Regions from separate parts of the Homo sapiens genome. Here regions 2, 3, 4 and 5 are each linked to region 1. Evidence: promoter capture Hi-C in human tissues and cell types (Jung and others, 2019). All regions are on one chromosome and are shown on one strand. Each heading gives the region's core, a stretch centred on a gene start or on the middle of the fragment in contact. The rest is flanking DNA. Distances are from core to core; before and after follow the strand shown.

Region 1 (2,619 bases), core at 47-2,546:
CGAGTTGGAGATGGGGCTGTACTGCAGCGCGCCCATGTCGTAGCGGTGCATGGGCTGCGGGTTGTGCGGGTGCGCGTGCGGGTGGTGCGGGTGCGGGTGCGCGGGGTGCGCGTGCGGGTGCGCGCCGCCCGCGCCCGGGTGCTGCCCGTAGGCCAGCTGCGCCTCCTGCATCATGGCCGCGGCCGCCGCCGCCGCCGCCACCGAGCCGGGGTAGGCGCCGTTGGCCCAGCCGTTGACGTGCGCGTAGCCGCCGCCCGCCGCGCCGCCTGGGCTCTCCAGGCGCTGGCCCACGGCCGCCGCGCCCACGCCCACGCCCACGCCCATGGCCACAGCCGCGCCGCCGCCACCCGCGCCGGCCGCCAGGAGCCCGCCGGCCAGCGAGTACTTGTCCTTCTTGAGCAGCGTCTTGGTCTTGCGGCGCGGCCGGTACTTGTAATCCGGGTGCTCCTTCATGTGCAGCGCGCGCAGCCGCTTGGCCTCGTCGATGAACGGCCGCTTCTCGGCCTCGGACATGACCTTCCACTCGGCCCCCAGGCGCTTGCTGATCTCCGAGTTGTGCATCTTGGGGTTCTCCTGGGCCATCTTGCGCCGCTGCCCGCGGGACCACACCATGAAGGCGTTCATGGGCCGTTTGACCCGGTCCTGGTTGGCCTTGGCGCCCCCGCCGCCGCCGCCGCCCCCGCCTCCGCCCCCGCCGCCGCCCGCCCCGGCGGGGCCCGAGAGGTTCGTGGGGGCCTGGGCGCCGCCGGGCGAGTGCAGGTCGGTCTCCATCATCATGCTGTACATCGGGGCGGCTGGCGGGTTCACCGGCACCGCGAGGAGAGGGCCTGGAGCATAGACGGCCGGGGTGGGAGGGAGACGGAGAGGAATTCAGACGGAGTGAGACGGGGGCGGGGGGGTCCTAGCGGAGAGAAGAATGGGGAGGGGTGGAGGCAACGACAACAAAAAAAGGCAGAAACACACGCACTCGGCGCCGGTTCGGCTCGCAGGTGGAAAGTTTCTCCTGATGCACAAACCACTTGCCAAAGAGGCCGACGGTCGGGGTCGCCGTCTTCGCCGCCACCGCAGCCCAGGCGCCCTCGGCGGAGCGGTGCAAACAGGTGCAGTCGTGGCCAAGTTGCAGCTCCGCTTTTGGGGCCGGGAGCGGTGCGCTGGGCCCGGCCCGGGGTGTGCTGTCTCCTCGCCGGCCGCCGCTGCGCGCTGTCTCCTTCCTCCTGCGCTCGGTCCTCAGCGGCCTCCAACTCGGAGGCTGCAACTTCTAGCAGGGCGGCGCGCCGCGTGCGCTGGGCATGTGCTGGTCCCAGGTGCCCGGGGGAAGCCAGGCGCCAGTGGCGGGGGGGGGGAGGCGCAGGGGGGCCTGCAGGGGGCGATTACGGTGCAGCCAGGGAGGGGCCCGGGGACAGCGGGAGGAGCGCGGGCTCGCGGAGAGGGCCGGAGAGCCGGGGCCGCCGAGCCCGGGATGGGCTGCCCGCTGCCTGCCCGGGGCCGTGCGCTCGGAGCGGAGGCGCACGCGGGGCCGGCGGCGCGCGGGGCCCAGCAGCCATACGCCGGGCCCGGGCTGCCATTAAATGAGCGCGCCGCGGCCAATGGGAGCCGGCGGCGGCGGTGATTTGCATGGCGCGCTGGCGAGTGACGTGGGGAGGGAGTAGATACACTGGGCGCGGGCGGCGGAGCGGGGAGGAGGGGAGGAAGGAGGGGGAGCAAAGCAGGAAGGAGGGGGGAGGAGGCCCGGGAGGGGGTGACAGCCACACCGCTTCCTGAGCGCGCGCGCGCGGCGGCGGCGGCGGCGGCGAACCCCGAGCTCGCCCTCCTCGCCGCTCCCCGCCCGCGCGTTCCGAATGATTAACGATTGGGTTGAAAAGCGAAGACTAAGAAAGGATCGTCGTGGGGTGGGGGGAGGAAACGCAGCCCCTGGCCAGGTTTAAACGGGCGCAGTGGAGACCCAGCTCCTCCTCTGCCCCCGCCGGCCAACTCTGTGCCTGCAGGGAAGGGGAAAGTTGAGTGCGGGGCTGGCACGTCGCCCTCAGTTCCCCCGAGTGCTGAAAAGGAGGGGCGCTCCCTTGGACGCAGGGGATACCCTCCGAGGGCCCCTGCAGGTTCTCTGCAAGGATCAGGCGGCTCAGCCATCCCCCGCCCTGCATCCGTTCTCGGCCGCGGCGTGCACTGAAGTTCGCCAGTGCCCGCTCTTGCAGCGAAGGCCTTCACAGTCCAGGCCCCACAATTCGGGTAAAGGGGGAGTATTTGTGTGGGCATGGCTCCATAGCTTCGTTTAGTATCAGCCCTAAACTTTTGTGGGGAGGAGTCTTTCAATGAGCCCGGGGCCATAGTCACGCACTCTTCCCAACCCGGATCTTCTTCCTCTGGAAAAGGAATTTCTAGGAAGGCCGAACACAACAAGATCTATCTGGAATCTAGTTCCTGAACAACAGTTGAAAAAGTTTGTTGAATCGCAAAATAATGATATGGCGCACGCTTTTCTGGAGTGAATTTCCCACGAGCTGGTTGCCTAAGAACGGAGAAAACTGCGTGAACTGCGCGGGGCCACATAAACCGAATGAAAGGCGGGGCCTCAGGACGGGTCTCAGCCGCCGGTCTGCGTCATGCAAAGGAAAGGCCTGG
Region 2 (2,619 bases), core at 54-2,553, 120 kb before region 1:
ACAAACCCACAGAGAGAGTGGAGCTCCAGCCTCGCTTTCTTGGTGACTCTGCGATGCTAGAAATAAACAAATTTAACAGACGCCTTCGAGGGGCCACCAACCCAGCCGCACACTGAGTCGGCACGAGTGTGTGCCGGGCAACGCGCTCAGCTCTGCGGGGCTGCGTCACCAGCTGCACTGCGTCTCCCCCACTTTCATACACTGCAGCCCTCACCCCCAGGACCTCCCAATGGGACCGCATTTGGCAGTGGGGTCTTAAAGAGATCGTTGGGTAAAATGAAGCCATAGGGGTTGGCCCTCATCCAGTAGGACCAGTGTCCTTATAGGAAGAGGAGGTTAGGACAGACACACACAGGGACGGCCGGGCGAGGACACAGGCAGAGGGCAGCATCCAGAAGCCCAGGAGAGGAGCCTCCGGAGGAACCAGCCCTACTCACACCTTGGTCTTGGACTTCCGGCCTCCAGAACCACGAAGAAGTAAGCCACCCAGTCTGCGGAATTTTGTTATGGCAGGTTGTAACAAGGCTTTCTGAAAAATACAAGCATTTCAGGCAGAGGCCCTTCACAGCCTGTTACGCAACCACTCAAAGTGCATGCCTTGTCTTTTGCAATTTCCTCAGAATTGGTTATGTCACTGGCACTCACGCCTAGGCCGTCCCGAGGGGCCAGCCCCGGGCACGGTCTCCCTTTCCCTGGGTGTGGGTACTGCCGGTGTGGGAACTGGCTGCTGGCGTGGGAACTGGCTGCTGGTGTGGGAACGGCTGCTTGTCCCAGTGGTGCCCACCTGTGTCCACACTTCAAGGCCACCTGGGCCTGGAGATGTCACTAAGGGTTGACCCGGAGACGCCGACCTCAGGGACCTGGGAGGCTGCACACTGGCCGTGTTTGAAGTGACCCTCATGTCACCCAGGTCAAGTGCCACGGGCCCCACACATCCTCTTCTTCCCTGTCTCCCAGCTGCAGGCCCGGACTGGATGGCTTTGGCTAAGGAACCAACGCAGGTGGAGAAGGAGGCTGACGATGGAGCCCAGGCACTCCAGCCTTGAAGGAGGAGAACCTGACCCTGAGCCTGCATGGCAGCCGTGCGGGGGGACTTCGGGGGGTTTCCCCTTTGCTTCCATCCAAAGAAAGTGCCCCACGTTTGAAAGCCTCTGTGCTGAATGCTCCCAATGCCCTCCGATTCCATCTAGGTCGTCCCTACCACCAAGGCAGGTGTGTGAATTCACCCGCACAGCTCACCGTCCTGGGAGGGTGACGCTGGAGGAGGGACGTCCCTACCATCAAGGCAGGTGTGTGAATTCACCCGCACAGTTCACCGTCCTGGGAGGGTGACGCTGGAGGAGGGACGTCCCTACCATCAAGGCAGGTGTGTGAATTCACCCGCACAGTTCACCGTCCTGGGAGGGTGACGCTGGAGGAGGGACATCCCTACCATCAAGGCAGGTGTGTGAATTCACTCGCACAGTTCACCGTCCTGGGAGGGTGACGCTGGAGTAGGGATGTCCCTCCGGGGTCTCTTCAGCATCTGCCCTTCTCCACCACATAAGTTCGTCAGTGAGGGGGAGTCACGCAGCTGGGAGCATGGAGTGCAGTGCGCAGGCCCCTTGCCCGGGGCCAGGCTCCCTCTGCCTCATTGCCGCTAAGAGGCTGCCCTTTCTGGCCTGGACATCTCCTGGGACTGTGGGCCCTCACAGCCCTGGGCAGTCTGGACAGGACGGACTGTGCTTCTCATGGGGCAGCACTTCCTCCACTGCAGACGCTGCCACCTGCCCCCTCCCTCCCTGCTGGAAGCCTCTGGTCTCCAGGCCTCTCCTGGCTGTCTCTGGCCCTTGCCTCATTCACACCCAGCTGTGAGCATACCTGCTGGCTCAGCCCAGAGCCCCTGTCTTCTCAGCTTTGCACCCCAACTCCTGAATTTGGTTTTCAGCTGGATTTCCTTAGGCTCAGGACTTAGCCAGGACTTGTGGACTCTCCTGCATATTTCTAGTACATGCACCTGCACAGGTTCGGGCCCTCTGACCACGAAGAGTGAATGAGACTGGGAGGGGTCATTACACATTGCAAGCAAAGCCATAAACACACACACCAGCCAGGTGCAAAAAGAGTTAAACTAATTAGCTTATTCCCTTGGGGAGAGTTTAAGCAGAAGTAGGAAAATAACTGAAGTACCAAACTGTCAGACAATGAATGGGTCTGGAATAATGTGAAAATTACTGCAACTGTCTGAGAGGCTATGTAGTTGGTGTTGTTATTAGTGGGGAGCTTTTTCCTCCACAGAGCAAGATACTAAATGGATGTCATTTCTGGGCACTTACATAATTGGCTAAGGCTGGTCTCAGCGGAAAACAGCCGCTGGCCCTGTCCACACACACACGCGGACCCACGGGGCCACTTGGAAGTCGGACGCTCCTGGCCTGACACTGCATTGTCTCCAGGTGGGACTGTGGAGCCACTTCCCTGGCCTGCCCCCTCTGTGGACAGGTGCTTGCTCATTTCCTGTGGACAGGAATCTCATTCAGACACTGGGCTCTGCTCCTTACCTCCTCCTCCAAGTGAGCTCAGCCGCTCCACACAGATGGGCAGCACTGTCCTCACCAGAGGGAACAGTTCGATTCGGGA
Region 3 (2,619 bases), core at 77-2,576, 95 kb before region 1:
TTGGCTTCAGAAAAGCCAAGAAGGGGCTGGAACATTTATTTTTGAGCACCTTAGAGAGGATAAATGCTCACTTCGCCCTGCACATCTTCTAGTCTTGAAAATAAAAGTTAAAATCTGATGACGATGATCAGCTGGGCAAGTTAGGAAACTCAAGGCGCTCAGAAGCAGCCTGAGGCCGAGTCCTCCAGTCCTCTCAGCTGTTTTAACAGTCACATTCCATCCTGCATCTTTTGAGTCTGAGACTCAAAAGTCGCATAATCTTCTAACTTGAGAATTTGATATCTCATCTCCTTCCCATTCTTCTATCTTTTGTTGCAAATAATTTAACGTCACATTTGCTCTAATTTTCTGTTATTTTTTTTACTTTGAGCCCTTCTCCCATTCATGTCCCGTACTAATTGGAAGGTCTTTAAAAGAAAAGTCGCTGTCATTTTGTCCCTTGGTTATTTTGTTGTCTTTTTTTTTTTTTTTGGAGAAGTTTGGATTCAAATAAAAGTTAAACTTAAAAAAAAAAAACCATACCTAAATATGTTGGTATGAAAACTAAATTCTATAAATAATGCTTTTTTAATGCAAAGAATGGCTTTCTGAACAAATAACCTTACTGCTAATATTAAATGGAAGCACTTTATGATACAAATGCAAAACTCTTCCAAATCATTTTCGGGAAAAAAAATCATGAAAGTCTGAAATTAGCAAATGAAAACATTGCGTCCAGTGATATTGTTTTCTAAATATGCCTGAAATCTGTCATAATCTGTTTTCCTGGAACAATAAGAAAGTGGTTCCAAGCCCCCATTACTATCATTTTCTACACAAAGGTTATCTGTGCATTATATTCAATATAGAATTTTCAAATTTTGAAACATTTTATTATTACAGTAATGGCTATTGCCTTTTCTAACAGACACCCTGTCAGAAGGTTTAAAAAATGTATGTTTCGGTTCATGCAAAAAAAAAAAAAAAAAAAAAAAAGGTCAAAACTTTTAAAATGTCACTTCTTCTGCGCTTTGCATAGAAATACATTGGATCAGTGGGAGGCTCCCTGCCCACAGAAGGGGCTGCGGGAAGAATGCTGCCTGCTGCTGAGCCTCCACTTTCCTGCAGCTGTGAGCTGAGCAGAAAGGCACTGTGGGAGTCTATTGTTGCCCCAGCTGGGTAATAGTTTTCTTATTTTACAGTCAGCAGCCAAGGGGGGTTGGGGTGTCTCCGTAAAGTGCCTGAAAAAAATACATAACTCCTGCAAATAGATCACTTTCTGCTTCTTCCATGAGAAACAGGAGTCTATAAATTGTGTAGTTCGTTTGGACCTACCAGTATAATTAAATATCACAAACAAAAGCCACCCCCAGAACCACAAGAGCTACAGATACGGTGCATTTTCCCGACAAACCTGGGCTGCGGGGAGCGCTGGGGCCTGCAGACTTGGTGACACAATTGTTTCTCCCATCTCCCGTCAGCCAATTATTCTTTCCCGTTTACTTTGTTTGAAAGTCACCTGCCATATGCTGAAGGACTAAGGCATGAAACTAAAATTTTAATCTCAAATGTTTTCAGCAAGGCGGGATTGCAGGCGCATGGGTCCTACTGAGCGTCTGAATTCCGCTTTTGTTTACCAGGCAGATCGCTAAGTTTGCGTGAACGGTGGTTAGGCTGCCGAGTGTCTTCACGGCTGAAGTTTGAGCAGGGCCCGGACTTCAGGCTTGTTTTGTTTTGTTTTGCACTGTGAATTGTCCATCGTGGTTTTGTTACCATGGAAACTCATTTTTAAAAGGTGAAAAGTCACTGACCTTTTACCATTGCCACTGCAGGAATTAATATTCTAGCAGGTTGGGAGGAAGGAGGCGTCTTGAATGTAGGTGAGGCCGTTTTCTGGTGATGTCCCCACAGAGAACTGTCTGATTTTTAGCCTTAAAGTCACAAGGGGACTAGGCTTACACTTTTTTTTACACAAATCGCCTTCAAATCAGATGTTTCAAAAATAATGAGACTGTTTTGTGCAGAGACTAAAATGAAGCTGTTAGGACTTTGATTTTTCAGAGCGATCGAAAGCGTCAGCTTTCTCATTCCTTAGGAAGCTCCCGTGGCTGAGTTTTAAAATGTTCACTCTGATGACCTGACTCTCTGGACACCCAACGAGTGGAATTATTTGTAGAAACTAATAGCACACAGTCCTAGAGTGAGCTGGCGAGTAGAAACCAGCCTGTGACCACATGGAGAGTCAGAGAGCTGAAGGAAATGTACTGTGAATGGGTTTTTCTTTTAAGCGCACTGAATAAATGAGATCTAGTGTTTACTCTTTTGATGGATCTGAGGACAATGTAAGTTTCAGGCACTGTTCCTGGAAAGGAAGAGAAAGCCACTTCTCGGGGTCACTGAGTGTTGACGCCGCGCCTAGTGTGGGTGGTGATGAGAACGCAGTAACTGCTCAACAAACAGGCGCTGAATGAGTCGCCTGTGACGGTGCTTCCGGAAGCTTCAGCCATATGCTAGTTATGGCAAGTCTGACAGATGGATCGACAGCAGCTGTCCGCCAGGATGCATGTGCTCTGCCTTCCTAGGGGTTGGGCACGTGATCATGGGATGGTGTCAACCCAAGAGAAGGGGTCTTAACATGCA
Region 4 (2,619 bases), core at 32-2,531, 77 kb after region 1:
AAAAGTCCAAGTCCAAAGTCTCATCTGAGACAAGGCAAGTCCCTTCCACCTATGAGCCTGTAAAATCCAAAGCAAGTTAGTTACTTCCAAGATACAGTGGGAGTACAGGCATTGGATAAATGCTCCCATTCTAAATGGGAGAAATTGGCTAAAACAAAGGGGCTACAGACCCCATGCAAATCCAAAATCCAGTGGGGAAGTCATCAAATCTTAAAGCTCTGAAATAATTTCCTTTAACTCCATGTCTCACATCCAGGTCACACTGATGCAAGAAGTGGGCTCCCACAGCCATGGACAGCTCCACCTCTGTGGCTTTGCAGCCCCCCTCCTGGCTGCTTTCATGGGCTGGTGTTGAGCATCTGTGGCTTTTCCAAGCACATGGTGCAAGCTGTCAGTGGATCTACCACTCTGGGTTCTGGAGGATGATGGCCCTCTTCTCAGAGCTCCACTAGGCAGTGCCCCAGTGGGAATTCTGTGTGGGTGCTCTAACCCCACATTTCCCTTCCTCACTGCCCTAGCAGAGGTTCTCCATGAGGGCTCTGCCATTGCAGCAGGATTCTGCCTAGACATCCAGGTATTTCTGTATATCCTCTGAAATCTAGGTGGAGGTTCCCAAACCTCAATTCTTGACTTCTGTGCACCTACAGGTCCAACACCACATGGAAGACACCAAGACTTGGGACTTGCACCCTCTGAAGCAGCACCCAAGCTGTACCTTGGCCCTTTTTAGTCATGGCTGGGGTTGGAGCAACTGGAACATAGGGCACCAAGTCCCAACGCTGCATACTGCAGGGGGGCCCTGGGCCCAGCCCACAAAACCATTTTGTCCTCCTAGTCCTCTGGGCCTGTGATGGGATGGGAGGGGCTGCTATCAAGATCTCTGACATGCCCTGGAGACATTTTCCTCATTGTCTTGGTAATTAACATTCAGGTCCTTGTAACTTATGCAAATTTCTGCAGCTGGCTTGAATTTCTCCCCAGAAAATGATTTTTTCTTTTCTACCACATCATCAAGCTGCAAATTTTTCAAACTTTCATGCCCTGCTTCCTTTTTAAACAAAAGTCCCAGTTTCAGACGATCTCTCTCAAGTTCAAAGTTCAACAGATCTCTAGGGCAGGGGCAAAAGGTTGCCTGTCTCTTTGCTAAAGCAAGAGTGACCTTTGATCCAGTTCCCAATAAGTTTCTCATCTCCATCTGAGACCACCTTAGCCTGGACTTCATTGTCCATATCACTAATAACAATTTGGTCAAAAACATTCAACAAATCTCTAAGAAGTTCCAAACTTTCTCACAACCCCCTGTCTTCTTCTGAGCTGTCCAAACTGTTCCAACCAGTTCCAAAGTCACTTCCACATTTTTGGGTATCTTTATACCAGTACCAACCTACCGGTACCAGTTTATTTTTCCATTTTCACACTGCTATAAAGAAATAACTGAGACTGGGTAATTTATAAAGGAAAGAGGTTTGATTGACTTACAGTTTTACATGGCTGGGGAGGCCTCAGGAAACTTATGATCATGGCAGAAGGCGAAGGGGAAGCAAGCACCTTCTTCACAAGGTGGCAGGAGAGAGAAGGACAATGTAGGAACTTCTAGACACTTATAAAACCATCAGATCTTGTGAGAATTTACTTACTATCACAGCATGGGGGGAACTTCCCCCATGATCCAATCACCTCCTTCCCACGTGGGGATTACAATTCAAGATGAGATTTGGGTGGGGACACAGAGCCAAACCATACCACCACCAAATTCTGAATTTCTAATAATGAAAGTCTATAGGATCTTAAAGAGTTTTTGCCGCACTTTCAGAAGTTTGTCCATGTTTCAAACCCAAAGTCTCTCCATTTTGGTTTACTATAATAGAATACCTGAGATTGAGTAATTTATATAAAAAAGTAAGTTATTTCTTACAGTTCTGGAGGCTGGGAAGTCCAGGAACATGGTGCTGGAATCTGGTGAGGAACTTCTTCCTGCATGATCTCAGGCAGAAGGCAGAAGGGCAAGAGTGCACAACAGCAGGAGAACAAGAGGTGGCTGAACCTACTTTATGACAAACCCACTCATGATAAGTCACCCACTCCTGAGAAAACAGCATTAACCCACTCATGAGGGCAGAGGCTTTATGACCTAATGACTTATCAGGCTCCACCTCTCAACACTGTTGCATTGGGGATGAAGTTTCTGACACATGCTTTTTGGGAGACACATTCAAACTATAGCATTCTTCCCCTGGCCCCCAACATTCAATGTCTTTCTCACAATGCTAAAGCCATTTATTCCACCCCAGTATTCCCAAAAAAGTCTTAACTCATTTCAGCATCAACTCAAAAGTCTGAAGTAAGTCTCACCTAAAGCAGATATGGGTGAGACTCAAGGCACAATTCATCCTGAGGCAAATTTCTCTCTGGCTGTGAGCCTGTCAAGTTAACAAATTATGTGTCTCTAAAATACAATGGTGGAGGCTGGGCACCATTGCTTACACTTGTAATCCTAACACTTTGGAAGGCTGAAGTGGGAGGATTGCTTGAGCCCAGGAGTTCGAAACCAGCCTGGGCAACATAGTGAGATCCTGTCTCTACGAAAAAAAAAAAAAAGTTGAGTGTGATGGCATACAC
Region 5 (2,619 bases), core at 88-2,587, 66 kb before region 1:
CCGAAACAGTGTGGTTACTGAGGTCATTTAGATCTTGAATCCAATTCTCTGGTGTTCCTTTTCTTTAGGGGAACATTGTTATTTCTGTGAAAACAGGGACTGGGGCTTTCAGGATAAAGGGGGATGATGATCGTTTCTGAAACTGAAGAAGCGGGAGAGAAACACTAGTGATGGCAGCTGAAGCCTCATGAACCTGGGCTGGTGGCCGTGGAACGCCAGGTCAGCTCCAGCCTAGGAGTGAGTCCTTGAGAGTAAGTCAGGGTCATAATGGTGTCCATACACAGCAGCAGACTTCCCTGTGTTTCCTAAAGGCCTGATGAAAGAGGCACCATGACGCTCCACCACCCTCCAGTCGGGCCCCATTTCCCTCCTGGGCTCCTCCACAGGCCCCTGCCATGCCTCCCCTGCATCCAGACAGAAGCCCTGTAACAGGTCAGCCGATGAAATGACTAAAGCAGAAGCAGTTTCCAGAACGCAGAGGTCATCCGGGCTTCCTCATGGGACAGAGGTCCGACCGCTCACAGCTCTGCGCATCCATGTCTCTCTCTCGGTGGACAAGGGACAGGGTGTGTTAGTTCGCTGCCACCTCTGGCGGAGAAAGTTCCACGGCAGAATCAGATGGACACGTGGCTGGTTCCCGGCACACACTCGCACCGCTCTCTTCGATGTGATTTTATCTGTGAAGGCGTGTGTATAATCAGTGGGGATTCATTTTCAGAGAAAGGACCCGCTAAAAAAAAGTGACCCTAATGAATGTCATTAGGAAGGAAATGCTGCTTTCTCTCTGGCCACTGTTTACACCGGGGCTGTAAACAGTCCAGCGTGTCCACGGTAACCAGCAGCTCCACATTTAACTTTTCAGTCTATAAAGGAGGCAATTACTTTCTTCTTTACATTTGTATGGTTTATAATAGCAATAAGACTGCCCCCGCCCTGGGTCAGACAACTCCTGGTGATTAATGAACAACTGGCCATTTTCATTTAAGTTTTTCTTTCTTAAGGGCTTTTGATTTCACTCCAGGGTCTTAAACTTCCTTGGTCACTTGCTGACTGCCAAAAAATGTCCTCCTTGTGGGTCATGACTGCCCCACACTCTTGGTTCTAAGACAAAGGCAAGCCTGCTGCAGTATCTTCCGTGTGGCCGCGTTAGTCCGTGAGTGGCACTGTTTTACCCTCTTTGTGTATGTACTCATGCAAGTGGCTTCTGTGTATTTGAGGAGGTAGCTGGGAGGATATTTTGTGATACAGAAGCAATATAATGCATGATGGACAAAGGAACGTATTCTGTGTAACGTCACAGCACTAAGGCATTAGAGTTCAGTGCAATTCTCTGCTTTACAAAATGAAAATGGGAATGCCATCCGGAGGCTTCCTCTACTCATCCAGCTCTACCTGGAGAAATTCAAGCTTTATTTATCACATGAGAAACACTTATCAGTCACCTCCAGGTGTATGTGCCACATGATGTAGGGTCACAGACATGTATTTGCCCCGTAATCAAAAGATACTGCACATTTATTCTGTATTAACTTCTTGGCTTGACTTGGGCTGTGCACAAGCTGGGATCATAATCTGTGGAAGGGGATGGGTATAGACAGTGAATCCTACCACCCAGCATGCAAATTGGAATCTTCAAGGAGACACTGTGAGCTTGAGGTTGTCGAGATGTTGCTTCATTGTGGTCATCTCCACTGCAGCTGCGGTGGCAGGAAGACGGCCCTGCTTCCTGACGTCCACCCACGAAGGACACTTCCTCAGGTGCTCTTTGAACCATTTAAATGGTCAGGGCGATTCACCTGCTCATGGAACCAGCCTGCATGTGGGTTAGAATAGACACCACTGGGCGTATCTATTGAGGATGCAGAGCAGACACACAGGGGATGGCAATTCTCTTTGCGGTGTGAACACAGGGTTTGGTGTAGCTGATGGTTTAGTGGTGGAAGATGAATGTCTGACCCTCTGCTGTGGCTCTCGAGGGAAAAGACTTCCTGGATGGCGCCAGCTCTGTGCAGTGGGGCGATGGGTGCTGAACGTGCTTGGTGGGTCACCTGAGCTTTGGGTGCCTGCGTGGAGTGTTGGCCCAGCACTGGAGGGGCTTGGGCGTCATGCTCCCTTCTGGAGCTGCTGCTTGGAGATTTTTAACTCAGTCGGTATAAGCCTTTCTTTAGTGGTAATATTCCTGAGAATCCAAGAGAGTTAAGTTTGGTGAGAACCTAACTGTTATGTGTGTTGCTTTTAGCTTCTAACTTATTCCAGGTATATATCATGAACTATATGTGTAAAGGCAACTTTTAAGTGGCAGTCTTTAACATAGATATCCAAATACAACACCAACCTGCTTTTCAAACTGTCTGGGCAGATGTTATTTGGAGTCATTCAGCCCGGAAGACAGTGCAGTCCTACTGTTCAGAACCTCCGTGTATATCTGCGGCCGGGCAGGGATGTGCCCGGCTCAGACTCCGCCTTCCTCGGCAGCCGCCGTTGCTCCATGGTGGGCAGGCGGCTTCCTGCCCCTCCACTTCATGCTTCCACAAGTAGCATGGCGGAACATTTTTTTAAAAACAAGGAAGGAGGAGGGAAAAGCTGTTCCACTCTGCAGATTCATTCCCGAGGGAGTGC

What was found. The method cuts DNA at HindIII sites, captures the fragments that hold promoters and counts their contacts. A contact is called where the count stands out against the background at its distance.
Region 2: a fragment that was not itself captured here is called in contact with the fragment with the promoter of SOX1 in region 1 in 10 of the 25 tissues and cell types used here (H1 embryonic stem cells, IMR-90 fibroblasts, bladder and 7 more).
Region 3: a fragment that was not itself captured here is called in contact with the fragment with the promoter of SOX1 in region 1 in 4 of the 25 tissues and cell types used here (H1 embryonic stem cells, liver, lymphoblastoid cells and 1 more).
Region 4: a fragment that was not itself captured here is called in contact with the fragment with the promoter of SOX1 in region 1 in 5 of the 25 tissues and cell types used here (bladder, dorsolateral prefrontal cortex, hippocampus and 2 more).
Region 5: a contact is called between a fragment that was not itself captured here and the fragment with the promoter of SOX1 in region 1, in 8 of the 25 tissues and cell types used here (adrenal gland, aorta, dorsolateral prefrontal cortex and 5 more).

What each region holds. Positions count from the first base shown.
Region 1 is chr13:112,065,826-112,068,444 of GRCh38, reverse strand. It overlaps SOX1 (SRY-box transcription factor 1), which reads right to left and starts at 1,296. Exons shown (of 1, transcript NM_005986.3): 1 at 1-1,296. The coding sequence starts at 786. All of the region lies in intron 1 of SOX1-OT (SOX1 overlapping transcript), which reads right to left. The HindIII fragment of the contact is 28,986 bases long and covers 1-2,619 here.
Region 2 is chr13:112,181,457-112,184,075 of GRCh38, reverse strand. It overlaps LOC105370370 (a long non-coding RNA gene), which reads left to right. Exons shown (of 6, transcript XR_944288.1): 4 at 958-2,435. Among named protein-coding and RNA genes, the nearest start is that of LINC01070, 15 kb to the left of the region's middle. RefSeq lists an enhancer at 1-609. The HindIII fragment of the contact is 5,467 bases long and covers 1-2,619 here.
Region 3 is chr13:112,160,604-112,163,222 of GRCh38, reverse strand. LOC100506016 (a long non-coding RNA gene) reads left to right here and starts at 2,513. Exons shown (of 2, transcript NR_134944.1): 1 at 2,513-2,619. RefSeq lists an enhancer at 2,426-2,619. The HindIII fragment of the contact is 8,047 bases long and covers 1-2,619 here.
Region 4 is chr13:111,988,753-111,991,371 of GRCh38, reverse strand. All of the region lies in intron 1 of SOX1-OT (SOX1 overlapping transcript), which reads right to left. Among named protein-coding and RNA genes, the nearest start is that of SOX1-OT, 18 kb to the right of the region's middle. The HindIII fragment of the contact is 4,707 bases long and covers 1-2,619 here.
Region 5 is chr13:112,132,224-112,134,842 of GRCh38, reverse strand. No RefSeq gene overlaps it. Among named protein-coding and RNA genes, the nearest start is that of LINC00404, 27 kb to the right of the region's middle. The HindIII fragment of the contact is 7,382 bases long and covers 1-2,619 here.